Regions from separate parts of the Homo sapiens genome. Here region 1 is linked to region 2. Evidence: promoter capture Hi-C in human tissues and cell types (Jung and others, 2019). All regions are on one chromosome and are shown on one strand. Each heading gives the region's core, a stretch centred on a gene start or on the middle of the fragment in contact. The rest is flanking DNA. Distances are from core to core; before and after follow the strand shown.

Region 1 (7,302 bases), core at 1,476-3,975, 120 kb after region 2:
ATCTTCTTCAATAAAAGGTCTGTTCAGATCTTTTGCTCATTTTAAAAAATGTGGTGCTGATCTTGTTATCATTAAGTTTCGAGAGCTCTTTTTGTATTCTAGATTCAAGCTCTTTATGTGATTTACAAATCAGAAATGGATGTTGGATAGTGTTAAATGATTTTTCAGAGTCTATTAATGTGGATTTTCTTTCTTTCTTTCTTTTCTTTTTCCTTCTTTCTTTTTTTTTTTTTGTTGTTGTTGTTGTTGTTGTTGTTGTTGTTGTTGTTGAGATGGAGTTTTGTTCTGTCCCCCAGGCTGGAGTGCAATGGTGTGATCTCAGCTCACTCCCAAGTTCAAGCAATTCTCCTGCCTTCAGCCTCTCAAGTAGCTGGGATTATGGGTGGCTGCCAGCATGCCTGGCTAATTTTTGTATTTTTAGTAGAGATGGGGTTTCACCATGTTGGCCAGGCTGGCCTTCAATTTCTGACCTCAAGTGATCTGTCTGCCTCTGCCTCCCAAAGTGCTGGGATTACAGGCATGAGCCACCGTGCCTGGCTGGATTTTCTTTCTTTTTAATTTATTTGTCACAAGTTACATTGGTTGACTTTCAAATTCTAAATTAACCTTGATTAAGCTCCACTGGGTCATGATGCACTGTACTTCTTATACGCTGTTGGATTCACTGTTAAAATTTTGTTTAGAATTTTTTCATCTATGTTCATTATGGATATTTGTCTGTGACTTTCTTATCTTGTGGTATCTTTGATTTAGTTATCTGAGAAATGGTGGCACCATAGAATGAGTTGACAAGTATTTCTTTCTTTTAAATTTTCTGAAAGAATTTGTATTATTCATTTATTGAATGTTTGATGCAATTCATACCTGAAGTATCGAGACCTGAAGTTTTGTTTGTGGAAAAGTTGTTAACTACAATTTGCATTTCTTTGGTAGATAGAAGCCTTTCCAAGATACCTATTTCTTATTGAGTGAGCTTGGTACTTTGTGTCTTTCAAATCAAATTTTTCTATTTCCCCTAAGTTATTGAATTTATTCATTAAAGTGGCTCATAATTTTTGTTCATTATCTTTTTAGTAAGTGTAGGCTCACTATTGACATTTTCTCTCTTACTCCTGACATTGGTAATTGTGTTCTCTCTCTCTCTCTCTCTTTCTCTCTCCTGACCAGCCTGACCAGGGATTTCCCACTCTGATTGACCTTCTTAAAGAACAAACATATGACTTTGTTGATTTTTCTCTATTGTTTTCTGTTTTTTATTTCACAGATTTTTGTGCTGATCTTTATAATTTATTTTCTTCTATTTACTTTGGGTTTAATTTGCTTTTCTCTTTCTAGTTGCTTAAGGCGGAAGCTGAAGTCATTGATACTTGTTCTTTTCTGATATACGCATTTAATGTTGCAAATTAAATGCCCAGAACAATGCTTCACCAACCTCCCGCAAATTGATACCTGGTGGAACTTCTTTTTCATTTTCATCCAGTTGAAAATACTTTCAAATTTCTCTTCATATTCCTCCTTTGACCCATGGGTTATTTAGAAATGTGTTATTTAATTTCCAAATATTTGGGGGTAATTTTCTAAAAACTTTCATTATTATCTTCTTATCTAACTCCACTGTGGTCGAAACATGTACTTGTATGAGTTAAATCCTTTTAAATTTATTGAGACTTGTGTTACACCCCAGAAGATAATCTACCTTGGTGTATTAGGCTGTTCTTGCATTCTATAAAGAAATACCTGAGACTGGGTAATTTATAAAGAAAAGAGGTTTAATTGGCTCACAGTTCTGCAGGCTGTACAGGAATCATGGCACCAGCATCTGCTTCTGGGGAGGTCTCAGGAAGCTTAAATGATAGGAGGTGGAACGTGGAACTGAGAGAGAGAGAGAGAGAGAGACAGACAGACAGACACAAAAGAGAGAGAGAAAGAGGAGAGAAGGTTGGGGGAGAGGGTGCCACACATTTTTAAATGACCAGATCTCAGGAGAATTCACTAACATGAAGACAGTACCGTGCCATGAGGGATCCACCCCTATGACCCGAACACCTTCCACCAGGTTCCACCTCCAACACTGGGGAATGCAATTCAACATGAGATTTGGGGAGGGACCACCTCCAACACTGGGGGATGCAATTCAACGTGAGATTTGGGCAGGGACAAATATCCAAACTATATCACTTGGTAAATGTTCACTGTGGACTTGAAAATAATATGAATTATCTTGTTGTTGGAGGCAGTGTTTTGTAAACATCAGTTAGGTTTAGTTGGTTGATAGTGTTCAAACCTCTTATATCCTTACTGATTTCCTGTCTACTTGTTCTATCAATTATCAGGATAGGAGGGTTAAAATCTCTTGACTATAATTGTAGATTTGTCTATTTATCCTTGTAGTGCTTTCAGTTTTTGCTTCATGTCCTTTAAACTCAGTTATTACATGCATATTTAAGATTGTCATTTTCTTTTGATTAATTTATTGTTTTAAATGACCTTCTTTACCCTGGTAGTATGCTTTGCTTTGAAAGCTTCCTTGTCTGTTATTAACAGAGCCACTCTAGCTTTCTTTTGACTAGTGCAAGCATGATGTATCTTTTTTCATCTTTTTATGTTTAACCTACTTTTGTCTTTAAATATGTGTTTCTGTAGGCGATAGAGTTAGATCTTACATTGTATCTAATTCAACAACTTCTGCATTTTTATTACTGTGTTTAGATAACTTACATGTAATGTATGAATATAGTTAATTCTAAGTCGACCATCTTTCTATATTTATCCCATCTGTTCTTTATTTCCTTTTTCTTGTTTTTGCCTTGCTTTAGATTATTTGTCTATGATTCTGTTATTTCTTTCATAGGTTTATTATGCATAATGCTTATAATTGCTATTATCTTAGTCATCGCTTTGGATGTGTAAAATACATCTTTAATTTTTTACCATTAAGTTGTATTATACCACTTCACATGTAGTATAAGAATCTTACAATGTTGTTCTTCCATTTTTTCCCTCTTAGCATTTGTGCTATTATCATACATTTTATTTTTATATATGTTACAAATGACACACTACATTATTATTTTTAAACTATTGCTTAATTTTAAAGAGATTTAGCTACTAAGAAAAGTATATGATGCATTTATCCATACAGTTACTACCTCTGATATTCTTTGTTACCGTGTGACTATCCCAATTCGGTCCTATGTTCCTTCTGTGTGGAGACTTCATTTCATATTTCTGTAAGGCCCAGTCTGCTGGTGACACATATTCTTTCAGCTTCTCTATATCTGAAGAAGTCTTTGTCTTACTTCGCTTTTGAATGACATTTTTGTGGACAAAGAACTTTAGGGTAAGGGGATTTCTTTTCCTCTTAAGTACTTTAAAGATGGTGTTCTATCTTTCTATTTGCATTTCTTTTTCTGATGATATGTGTTATATTTATTATCTTTGATCCTTCACACCTTTTTTTCCCTATTATCTGCCTTTAAGCTTTCCTGTTTGTCGCTGGTTTCGAGAAATTTGATTATTTTGAGCTGTATGTAATTTTCTATGTGTTCTTGTGTTTGGGTTTTGTTCATTATTTTAGATCCGTGGGTTTGATGTTTTCATTAAATCTGGAGATTGTTCTGCCAGCAACTTCAAACATAGATAGATAGATAGATAGATAGATAGATAGATAGATAGATAGATAATTTGTCTCATGTTTCTTTTTTTTTTAGGTTATTCTGATTACATGTATATGAGACCACTAGAAGTTGTCCCATGACTCACTGATATTTTGTTCATTTATAATTCTTTTTTTCTCTCTGTTTCATTTAGATAATTTCAATTGTTATGTCTTCAAATTCACTCGTATTTCTTTCTGCAAGGTCTAATATGTCATTAATCATGTACAGTGCATTTTCATCTCAGATATTAGAGCTTTCATTTGTTAGAATTTGATTTAATTTTTTAAAATATCTCCTGTCTTCACTTAACTCTTTGAATATATAAAATACAATTATAATAATTATTTGTATTGTCCTTATAATTCTAACAGTGGTGTCAGTTCTGCAATGGTTAGATTGATTGATTTTTCTCCTCACTGTGGATTTTATTTTTCTGCTTCTTTTCATGCCTGGAAAATTTTAATGTAATCCCAGACATTGTAAATTTTACCTTCTGGGTGCTGGATATGTTTGCATTTCTAGAAATATTTTTGAGCTTTCCTCTTGGAAGCAGTTAAGTTACTTGGAAATAGTATGATATGGTCTAGCTTTTTACATTTGCTAGGCAGTAGCTGAGTAATATTCAGCCTATTACTAATTATTCTCTGCTATTAAGTTGAGGCCTTCTGAGTGCTCTGCTGAAGGCACTGTGAATATAAGGTTTAGCACCTGGCTGACGAGAACAGGCTTCATCCCCTGCCCTGGGTCAGCACTGCACACTCCTCCTGCAAGGATTTTCAGGTGGTTTTTCGGCTGGCCTCAGGCAGTCTCCTCATAGACTTGTGCTGGTCAATATTATGTTGGATACTGTTGGGGGACCCTCTGTGCACCCCCAGGATTATCTCTCTGCAGCTCCCTTCTCTGCAGTGCTCTGTCCTGAAGCCTCTAGCTATATTGGTCTCCCTGGACACTAAGCTCTGTCTCCTCAACTCACTGAGTTCACTGGCTCTCCCTGGGTTTCCCCTCCTGGCAACACATTCCAGAAACTCAAGGCAATAAACCAGGACAAGCATTTTGTTTTCTATCTCTCAGGGATCACTCTCCATTATCTTGTGTCTGGTGTCTTGAAACAATTGTTTTGTATTTGTCCGTTTGCATTTTTGCTTGGTTGGTTGTTCTGGTGAGAAGCTAAGTTTAGTAGCTGTCCCTGCATCCTGGTGGGATGCAGAAGTCCTATTTTCGTTAGTTCCTCTGTTTCAGTTCTTCCATCCCAAAGTCTCTGGTTGATGAGAATAAAGTCCACTCTGTGCCTCTCCCCTCTACTTATTTGCCTTCTTCCTCTCTTCCCCTCATGAAAGACAGATGGCCAGCTTGCTGTGGCCCTCAGAGAAGATGGACACTGGGGACCAGGCCTTGGGCACAGGGCACTCCGTTGCTGTGTCAAGGTTGAGAATTGAGCTAGGTGGAATGACAAACTTGGGAGAATAAAGTAACACCAGTTCTTTGGTGGCCTAATTCAAGATATTTGTTTTAAAATGTGTTGTTCTGTGCATGACAATGACTACAACCATGAGAACAAACTACACGATACTAGAGAAATGTTAACAATTAAGGCTAATGATAGATGATGGGGAAGTAAAAAGTGAGGAGGAAACAGATAAACATCTAATTTAGTCATGAAACAATATTACTAATTAGTACTAATCCCGTCTATACAACTTAAATACCATTTATACTTACTATACAGCAGAGCATTTATGGGAATTAAAATCAAAATGTGTTTGTATGTGTACTAAATTAACAAAAATATGTATTATTAGAGTAATAAATTATGAATATTGTGTTACATATATAACATTTGTTGTTATAAAATAGTATGTATTTGTTAATTTAGTTATTCATGCTTTTTATTAACAAATTTAAAAGCACTGGGATTTACAAATTATGTCTGAGCCTCAGCTAGGCACCACCCAATCTTCCTAAAATTTCGCCTGCTCCTTTATTATCGGGTAACTCATCCTGGGGGAGTTTGAATATCGATGTGGGACTCTAAGATATTGGTGTTCAAAGTTAAATGCCCATATTTCAGGGGATTCAAAGGTATCAGGTTATAAGAAAAATACAAATCTATTTGTATTAAAGTTAATAAATGTGTTGTTTCCAAGTATAAAGCTTATATACGCATATAGACACCGCCATTTTCCCAGCATCAGTCATGTGTCTAGATGGGGACTTGCAGACCATGGACAGTCTGAAATGCAGAGGCTTGACATTGGAACCCTGACTCTTCCACTGGCATTTGGCATTCTGCTCTGTATTGCAGTTTATGAGGGCCTCAGTGAATAGATTTATGAGAGTTATATTATAATATTTTATAATACTTTGTAATGAAATGGGATGACTGTGAAAATCATTTGTACCACAAAGAGTTCTGCTTGTTATAATGTTCTAGAAGCATTGTCAGTTTTTTTTTTGTTTGGTTTTTTTTTTTTTTTTTTGACATGGAGTCTCTCTCTGTCCCCAGGCTGGAGTGCAATGGTGCGATTTTGGCTCACTGCAACCTCTGCCTTCTGGGTTCAAGCGATTCTCCTGCCTCAGCCTCCTGAGTAGCTGGGACTAGAGGCGCCCGCCACCACGCCCAGCTAATTTTTGTATTTTTAGTAGAGACAGGTTTCACCATGTTGGCTAGGCTGTTCTCGAACTCCTGACCTCATGATCTGCCCGCCTCGGCCTCCTAAAGTGCAGGGATTACAGGCATGAGCCACTGCACCTGGCCAGAGTTGTCAGTCTTAAAGATGAGTTATTTTTCTCTTGTAATAAAGACATGTGCTTCAAATTTGCTATTAGTGGATGACAGTGGCTAAAGGAGTACTAACAGAATTTTTTTAAAAAAAACGATACATGAAGATCATGCTTCAAAGCAAAATTAATGTTAAAACAATTAGTAAGAAAGAATTACTTTAAAAAGAACCTTGTCCTATGGAAAGAACATTTTGAAAATGGATGTTTAAAAACGTGGTCATTGTTATGTGATTTTCAAAATTTTGGCTATAAGGGATGTTTAAACTCTTAAAAACTTTCAGATTTAAAAACTTTCAAATTTCTAATCAAACATGCATAAGCAATTATACCTATTTGCAGATGATATGATTTTATATTTGGAAAAATCTAAAGACTTCACCAAAAAACTATTAGAACTGATAAATTCAGTAAAATTGTGGGATACAAAATCAAAATACAAATCAGTAGCATTTCCATATGTCAACACTGAACAATGTGAAAAAGAAATCAAAAGAGCAATCCTATTTATAATAGCCACACATAAAATTAAATACATAGGAAGTAACTTAACCAAAGAAGTAAAATATCTTTACAACAAAAACTATAAAACACTGATTTTAAAAAAAATTGAAGAAACAAAAAAATGGAAAGGTATTCCATGTTCATGGATTGGAAGAATCAATATTGTTAAAACGTCCATACTACCCAAAGAAATCTACAGATTTAATGCAATTCCTATCAAGATACCAATGGCATTTTTCACATAAATAGAAAAAATATCCTAAAATTAATATGTAACCACAAAAGACCTAGAATAGCCTAAATTTTGTGAAGCAAAAAGAACAAAACTGGAGGAATCACATTACCTGACTTCAGAGTATAC
Region 2 (7,025 bases), core at 4,050-6,549:
TCTAAATGAGCATGATAATTATTACTGTTTTCTGTACAGTGAAGAAAAATATAATTTTGAATAAAGTAAGTGGCTTTTTTTTTTAACTTCAGGGATGAGACCCATAAGCTAATTATAAAAATAAATAAAAATATTCTTATTGAGAACCTGATTTAGACCAGCACTATTCCTATGTACTCATAAGCTAAAAGGCATAAGTCCCTTTCTTCAAATAGCTTGAATCATTGCAGATACTAACCTGATAGCACAAAGAAATGAAATGCGATATAAAAACCCCAGATGCAAAATAGTTCAGAGACTGAGTCTCAAGGGTGTGCAGGTAATGTGGAAAGTTTTGTTGCAATATGCGTATTTTTGAATTTATTGGGCCACTGAGGGTGAAATGAAAGGTATTTACTTTCACAAAATTGCAGACATTTTATAAAATTATAGACTTTGAGTAGAATAAATACCTTCTATAGATTATCTTAGTTTGCTGGTTATAATAATCTAAACCAGCAGTACCCAACCTTTTTGGCATCAGGGACTGGTTTCATTCATGGAAGACAATTTTTCCACAGAACGTGTCGGGGTGGGGAGGTGTTTCACCTCAGATCATCAGGCATTAGATTTTCATAAGGAGCACACAACCTAGATCCCTCACACACACAGTTCACTATAGGGATCACACTCTCATGAGAGTCTAATGTCGCCACTGACTTGTCGGAGCTCAGGCAATAATGCTCACTTCCCCACCATTCACCTCCTGTGGTGCGGCCCAGTCCCTAAGAGACATGGACTGGGGTTGGGCACCCCTTACCTACATCTTAAATTCTCAATGCTCTTTTAGATCTCAGAATTATATTTCATATTTATATCTATATATTTTGCCAATAAATAACCAGTTCTATAAAATCAGGCCAAGTGATCTGAATACAGATGTTTTCAACTCTACCTGCTCCAGACTCCCCTAATATGGGTTTATACTGAATAGAATGGTCAGCCTGGGATAGCTGCAAAAATAACGCATGAGCTCTGAGGTTCATGGTCTACCCCTTGTGGTCCAGTCATTTCACCGAGATTACACAACCAAATTCTATCTGACCACAACTATTCTTGATACCTCAGCTCTTCTTCATGATATGTCTCCTAAATTTCTTTCTCATTATTCTATTTAGCAAATTAACCACCAACACCTTATTTCTTTTATCTATTTGCTATTGAGTCACTCTATAGATGTTTTGATTAGTTGAAGCTAATTCCCTGTAATGAAAATGGGTTCCCCATCCTTATCATTGATAAATTAATAAACCACCCCCTCTCTGATATATAGCTAACTTGGAAAGTTGTTCCCCAATACAGTGGCGGAGGGCTATGTTAGTGCCTGATTTTGCATAGTGTACACTCTGATATAGTAATATCTGGATTCCAGGTTTTACCAATTTACTACCCAACTATAGCAATTCTATGCTGTTTGCTCCAGACCTAAATTAATCTCAGACTCCCTTTAGATGTCACAGCTCTCCATCACTGGTGCAGACATAATTCTGAAGAAAAGGTCATGAAGTCATCGTCATGCTTTCCATGAAGGTCTAGTTCCCGGCTCCTCACCTGGTGTGCAACATGGCACCTGAAGAAACGTCACGGCTCCTTTTTGTTTCTGGTCTCATGATGAGACCAGAGTCCAGAGAACAGAAAGGAAAGAGATTGAACTTTCTATACTATGAGAGATCAATCTATCGTTTGTTAAAGTGATCAGCATATGTATCCTACAGTTGGAAATACATCCTAGGTTATAACTTGTGTGTATTTCCACACAAAAAATTATATGGGCTTTTTTTCTTTGTACTAAATTGGAGGACATACCCATTAGAAGTGGCAATATGTTCCAATTTCTTTTCTCTTACAAATAAATAAATACATACATAAATAAACAAAATTAATGACATATGTATTTCCTAATACCAAGGGCTTTAACATGTGGAATAAACTAATACATGAAGTACAAAATATATTAGAAATAATTTAAGGAGGCAGGTGACAGATACTTAGAGACAAAACATTTGGTTATACGGTTTAATCGCAAACTACAGATTTTTAATCTAAATGGTCATTTGAGTATTCCCCAGTTCTTCTACATCATAAAGGATTTTATGGTACCTTACTGCAGAGTACTCGATATCATTTTTGAAGAAATCATACTGTATCAAGTGAGCTACAATGTAACTGCAAAATGCAGACTGCAGTGTTGCTCTGCTGTGGCTCTGTGGCTTCATGATTCATTCATTTTTCCTCTTCTCTTGAGCCATTTGAGGGCTGGTATCTCAGCTCTAAAAGTCATGCAGAGAATGGGTGGAAAGAATACAAATGCTTCACTGGAGCCCGATTCAGGCTGGGGCAGTTGTTGTCAACACGATGAGGTTGAATGAAATGCAGTGACAGTGTGGTAAGGGAAGACGTGTTCTTTAATGCTGCTGGGTCCAGGGATGCCTTACCTTAAGGGTAAAACATTAGATACTATGCTTATCAACACAGCAGCCTGTCATTGCAGTGAGTTACACCTACAGCTTAAGGTAACCAAAGCTGTTGAAAGAATATTGTGCCTGCGTGTGTGTGTGCAGGTGCCCCATATCAAATATACATTCTGTTTTCATAGACATGCACAAATGTGTAAGAAAAACATATACATGTATAAATCTGTGATTTAAAATATTGTGTCAGTATTATTTACAGATTTCTTTCTTCTTAATGTAAGGTAAGGTATGTGGGGGTGAATTTTAACTAAGAATTTATTATTAACACAACTATGATAAACTCATAGGGAATGATTACATGAATATGTGTGTATATATGTGTGTGTACATACATATATATTCATTTAATTTGAACTTTATTTTTTTAAGTACATTTGGAATTCCTTGGAAGTAATAATATAATGTATATGTAAACGCCTAAATAATACCCAGGAGGTCACGATTTGACCTAAACACTCGCATTTGCGTGGGAATTTTATTGTGCTCACTTTTTTTTTAGAGGAATGCTTTGTCCTTTACAAAATGGACAAATACTCCCACTGTACTGCAGTTCCAGTTCTATAATCATTTTGGAGGCGCTCTTTACCCCGTGGTGACCACAACACGAAGAACCGTCCTTACCCACATGCTGCTTGCCTGGGGAGCTCAGGATCAGTGTCTTACACACAGAAGGATATATGCTCCCATTTTTTTTCCGCCGACTGTAAATGACTCCTATTCTTTGCTCCACAGAACATCCGATGTGGTGCCCAATCAGCTGAAAAAGCTGCACAGACGTCATTAGTTCCGTGTGTGTGTGTGTGTGTGTGTGTGCAAGAGAGAGAGAGAAAGAGAGAGAGGAGACTGCAGCTGCCTTGCCGCGTGCCGAGTGGAGTCTCCATTAGGGCAGCGCTATTGATTTCTGATTCACACTGCAGCAACAGGGCTAGAGCTCAGAAGAAAAAAAAATCACGTCTCAGAAACAGGAATTACAAAGACAAAAATAAGTAGATAGATAGTTTTATACAAAAATCAAGCATCTGTTACCAAAGGAAAGCAAAACTGACAATTTAGCAAAATTTAAAGACTGTTTATAACATAGAATAAGATGTATAGGAGAAGTAGAGTAAAATGAGTTTAGAAAAATTATTCGTTCTAATTTTTCAACCATTTTTTTGAGAGGTGATAATGGTCTAATTTCCAGAATGCCTTGAAAAACCCTGGAATACTCGGCAGAGGTGCTGCAAAGTAAAGCTTATTTGAGGGCAATCTTGAAGCTATGCCTGAGAATTTTAAACAACAAAATATCCAAGATTTATTTTTTCAATTGTGTTCGATTATTTTATTAGCTAGTAGCTTTCTCTGTTTTAATTCTCTGTGTTGCATAATATCTAGGATACAGTAACAGGCTGGTTGCAAATGCTCGAAACAGAAATAGGTTTCTTCATAGGCTGTGTTTCAGCATGTCCAACTGTGAGCCTGTGAAGCAGAGCATCGGAGTTCTCTCGAGGTCTGTTGCTTCAGATTTGGTTAGAAATTATTGAATCTGGAGTGTAAAAATCTTGTCTGGGCCTTTTAGGCAGCTTGATTTTAAAACTAGCCCTTCTGCCCCAAGACTTATCAACCGCCCCCCCACCCTGTCCCAAAAGAAAAGCTGAAGTAAGTTCAGTGTTAAAATAATGGTGCTGTCAGGCAGGCAGTCTGCATGTGAGCAGCAGAAAATTAGAAGAATAGAACCATCCATTCTCGTTTCCCCCCGCGACATGCACGCACACATACGTGCACACACACACACACACCACACACACACACACAGACAACACCAGTCAGTGAAGGGGGAAAAGGGTGATACCTTTTTAAAAAATGAAAGGCAGTAAGCCATTATTAGCAAGAGCTATATTGAGCATGCTTGCCAGACAAGCAGCAAAGCTGAGCTCCAGTTCCGCCCAGACATGTGCCTTGCCATTTTCATTTTAATCAGCCTGCTCAGGATGGCTGCTGATTCATTTTGCAGGATGTCCCCCTGGGAGCCAAGGTGGAAGCCTGAGGCGAGCTGCTATTGCATCAATGCAGCACATCAGAGCGAGAGCGCGGAGGCAGAGGGAGGAGAGAAAGCCTTCAGCACCGCATCCCGATTTCAATATGGCTAGTTAGAAGGTCCTGCATGAAACCGAGTCTATTGCAGAAAACATAATGAAAGGAAAGGAAAAGAAAAAAGTCACATTGTCATTTCATTATCCAACTATTCTCTCCCCCAACCCCTTCTTGCCACCAACAGACACACACACGTACACATTTTACAGTGACCATGAAAGATTTCAAGCCACTCTGTGGAAGTGTGTGTGTGTGTGTGTGTGTGTGTGTGTGTGTGTACTATTTACCTGGTAACTAGCTGGGGTGGTATACCTGATTTAGCTGGAGACTTTGATTTGTAGGACTGACAACCTTATTATGCAGTGAGTTTATTATTGATATTATTCTGCTCTCGGTTGCCATGGCCACCTTGTGAGAGACATTCAATTTTCTCTCTTCCATCATCATTATCTATGAGGCCATCTGTTGTGGAAAATGAATTCAGCCTCATTTGCATGACTGATAAGCAATTTTTTTTTTTATCTATTTAACAGAAGGTCATATGCCGGGGATTTGGAGCTTGTGAAAAAAAAATGTGGAAAAAAAAAAAAGCCTAGGAGAGGATGAGTGGGAGCGTGTGCATGGGGGTGTGTGGAAGTCAAACAGATCCCTGAGGCCTGCGAGCCTATCGCGCTGCATTTGTCATTCCTGCCCGGGCGACATTTTTTTTTTCCCTAAGCTACTGCACACTAAACAGTGAGAGAGCTTTTCCCTGCAGTCTTGTTGAAGCACCCCGGGTTTTTTGCTCATTGTTGGTGGGTGCATTTTAATTTTTTCATTCCCTGGACTATGGGTTATGATATCCATACTCACTGAAGACAAAAAGCCACCTTTTCTGCGTCTTGGTGGCATGCATGTGTCTCATCATCCTTTCAAACTTGTGGTGGAACAGGGTTTTCTTCCCTGTCTGTGTATTTTGAGCCAGCACAGTTACCAAAATTGAACTTGTCTTTCGCTTGTGAGCGGTTGTGGTCATTGTGAGGTACGTGATGTTCGTTAGGTTAATTTTTCGGGGAACTTAGTGAGCAGGATGTGTTTTACCGTAGCTCAAGGGCTGAGGCTGCTATTCCATTGTCTGCTCCTTTTTAAAGTTATTTTTACAGCATGGCTGGTAGCTGAAATGTTCCTGGACTGGAGGCTTTGTAATCCACAAAAAAATCTGTCTTTAAACTAAAATGGGTATTAGGTTGCATGACTTAACTGTGATGTTGTTTATTAAGAAAAAAAGAAACAAAAACAAAACGGGGTGCATGTATGGTGTTTGGAGGATAAGAGGATACTGAAACAAAAACTTCCCAGAGACTTTACTGGATTACTTTACATTACAAATGAAGCACATCATTTTATGCAAAGGCAATTAAAATGTTAGCTATTTTGGATGAATTTACCTGATGGTAAGAAGAAAGTTGATTTATATTGTTTAAGTGGAGAAACTCAAATAAAGATTTTTAAATTTAACTTAAATGTTTGAAGTTCATAATAATGAAAGAAAATGTTATTTATAACAGAAATATGTCTTTTTGTAACACCTAAATTAATAAACTAAAAGATTAAACTCTACACTTTAGTTTTAAGATAGATCTGAATAAAGCAAAAATATATATGTAAATATTTATATGAAAGTTAGCTATATAAAATATAGAGAACAGATTTTGAATTTAGTATTAACCATGACAATTTCTTGTACCATCAAAGCTATATAAGCTAAATAATTTCTAAGTTACTTAGAGTAAAACTATTTTATATAAGAGCCTTTTTGTTCAAATGTTTATATTTTCTACTAAACAAAATTAACGTCATAGACCAAAGCATCCCAAAACCACCCTTACTGGCATATGAGGGTCTTTCTAATTGTTCATCTTCATTTAGTGTCATGTAGCTTTAAAAATAATAAAGTCATGTCTCCCATACAGATAAAAATGTAATTATTTTTAAAAGAAAAGAGTTTTATAAAATATTCCTTTTCAAAAAAAAAAACAGCATTGCATTCCTATAAGTTTTCACCTCTCAAGAACTTTGAATCCAAAGTGTTGATTGTAAGTTATAAATGCTACTAAGAGAAACATTCCAGAAAAAAAGGAAGTTTGTTTTTTCTGATTGACCTAAAAGAACATGTATGATTCTATCACCTCAAATGCAGTAAGTTAATTGCTTAAAAGTCTCCTTAAAGTTATACTTGAGTGATAAATTTTCTTTATTAACTAACATAGACCACTACTGATGTGTGTGTGTGATGGTACTTTACTTGATTGCACTTTGAAAACTCTTACCATACTATCATACACTTTTCATAAACAATAACAGTTGTTATATAATCCTTCTGCTTTTAATCAGCCATATTTCTTTATATTTTAGCTTGATTTTCAGAGAAATAAGTTTATTTTAAATATTAATTGTGCA

What was found. Contacts are between HindIII fragments. The study calls those that stand out against the background at their distance.
Region 1: a contact is called between a fragment that was not itself captured here and the fragment with the promoter of MYT1L in region 2, in 2 of the 25 tissues and cell types used here (IMR-90 fibroblasts and aorta).

What each region holds. Positions count from the first base shown.
Region 1 is chr2:2,210,638-2,217,939 of GRCh38, reverse strand. The region is part of intron 2 of MYT1L (myelin transcription factor 1 like); the gene reads left to right. Among named protein-coding and RNA genes, the nearest start is that of MYT1L-AS1, 100 kb to the left of the region's middle. The HindIII fragment of the contact is 3,840 bases long and covers 806-4,645 here.
Region 2 is chr2:2,329,549-2,336,573 of GRCh38, reverse strand. It overlaps MYT1L (myelin transcription factor 1 like), which reads left to right and starts at 5,299. Exons shown (of 25, transcript NM_001303052.2): 1 at 5,299-5,607. The HindIII fragment of the contact is 11,173 bases long and covers 1-7,025 here.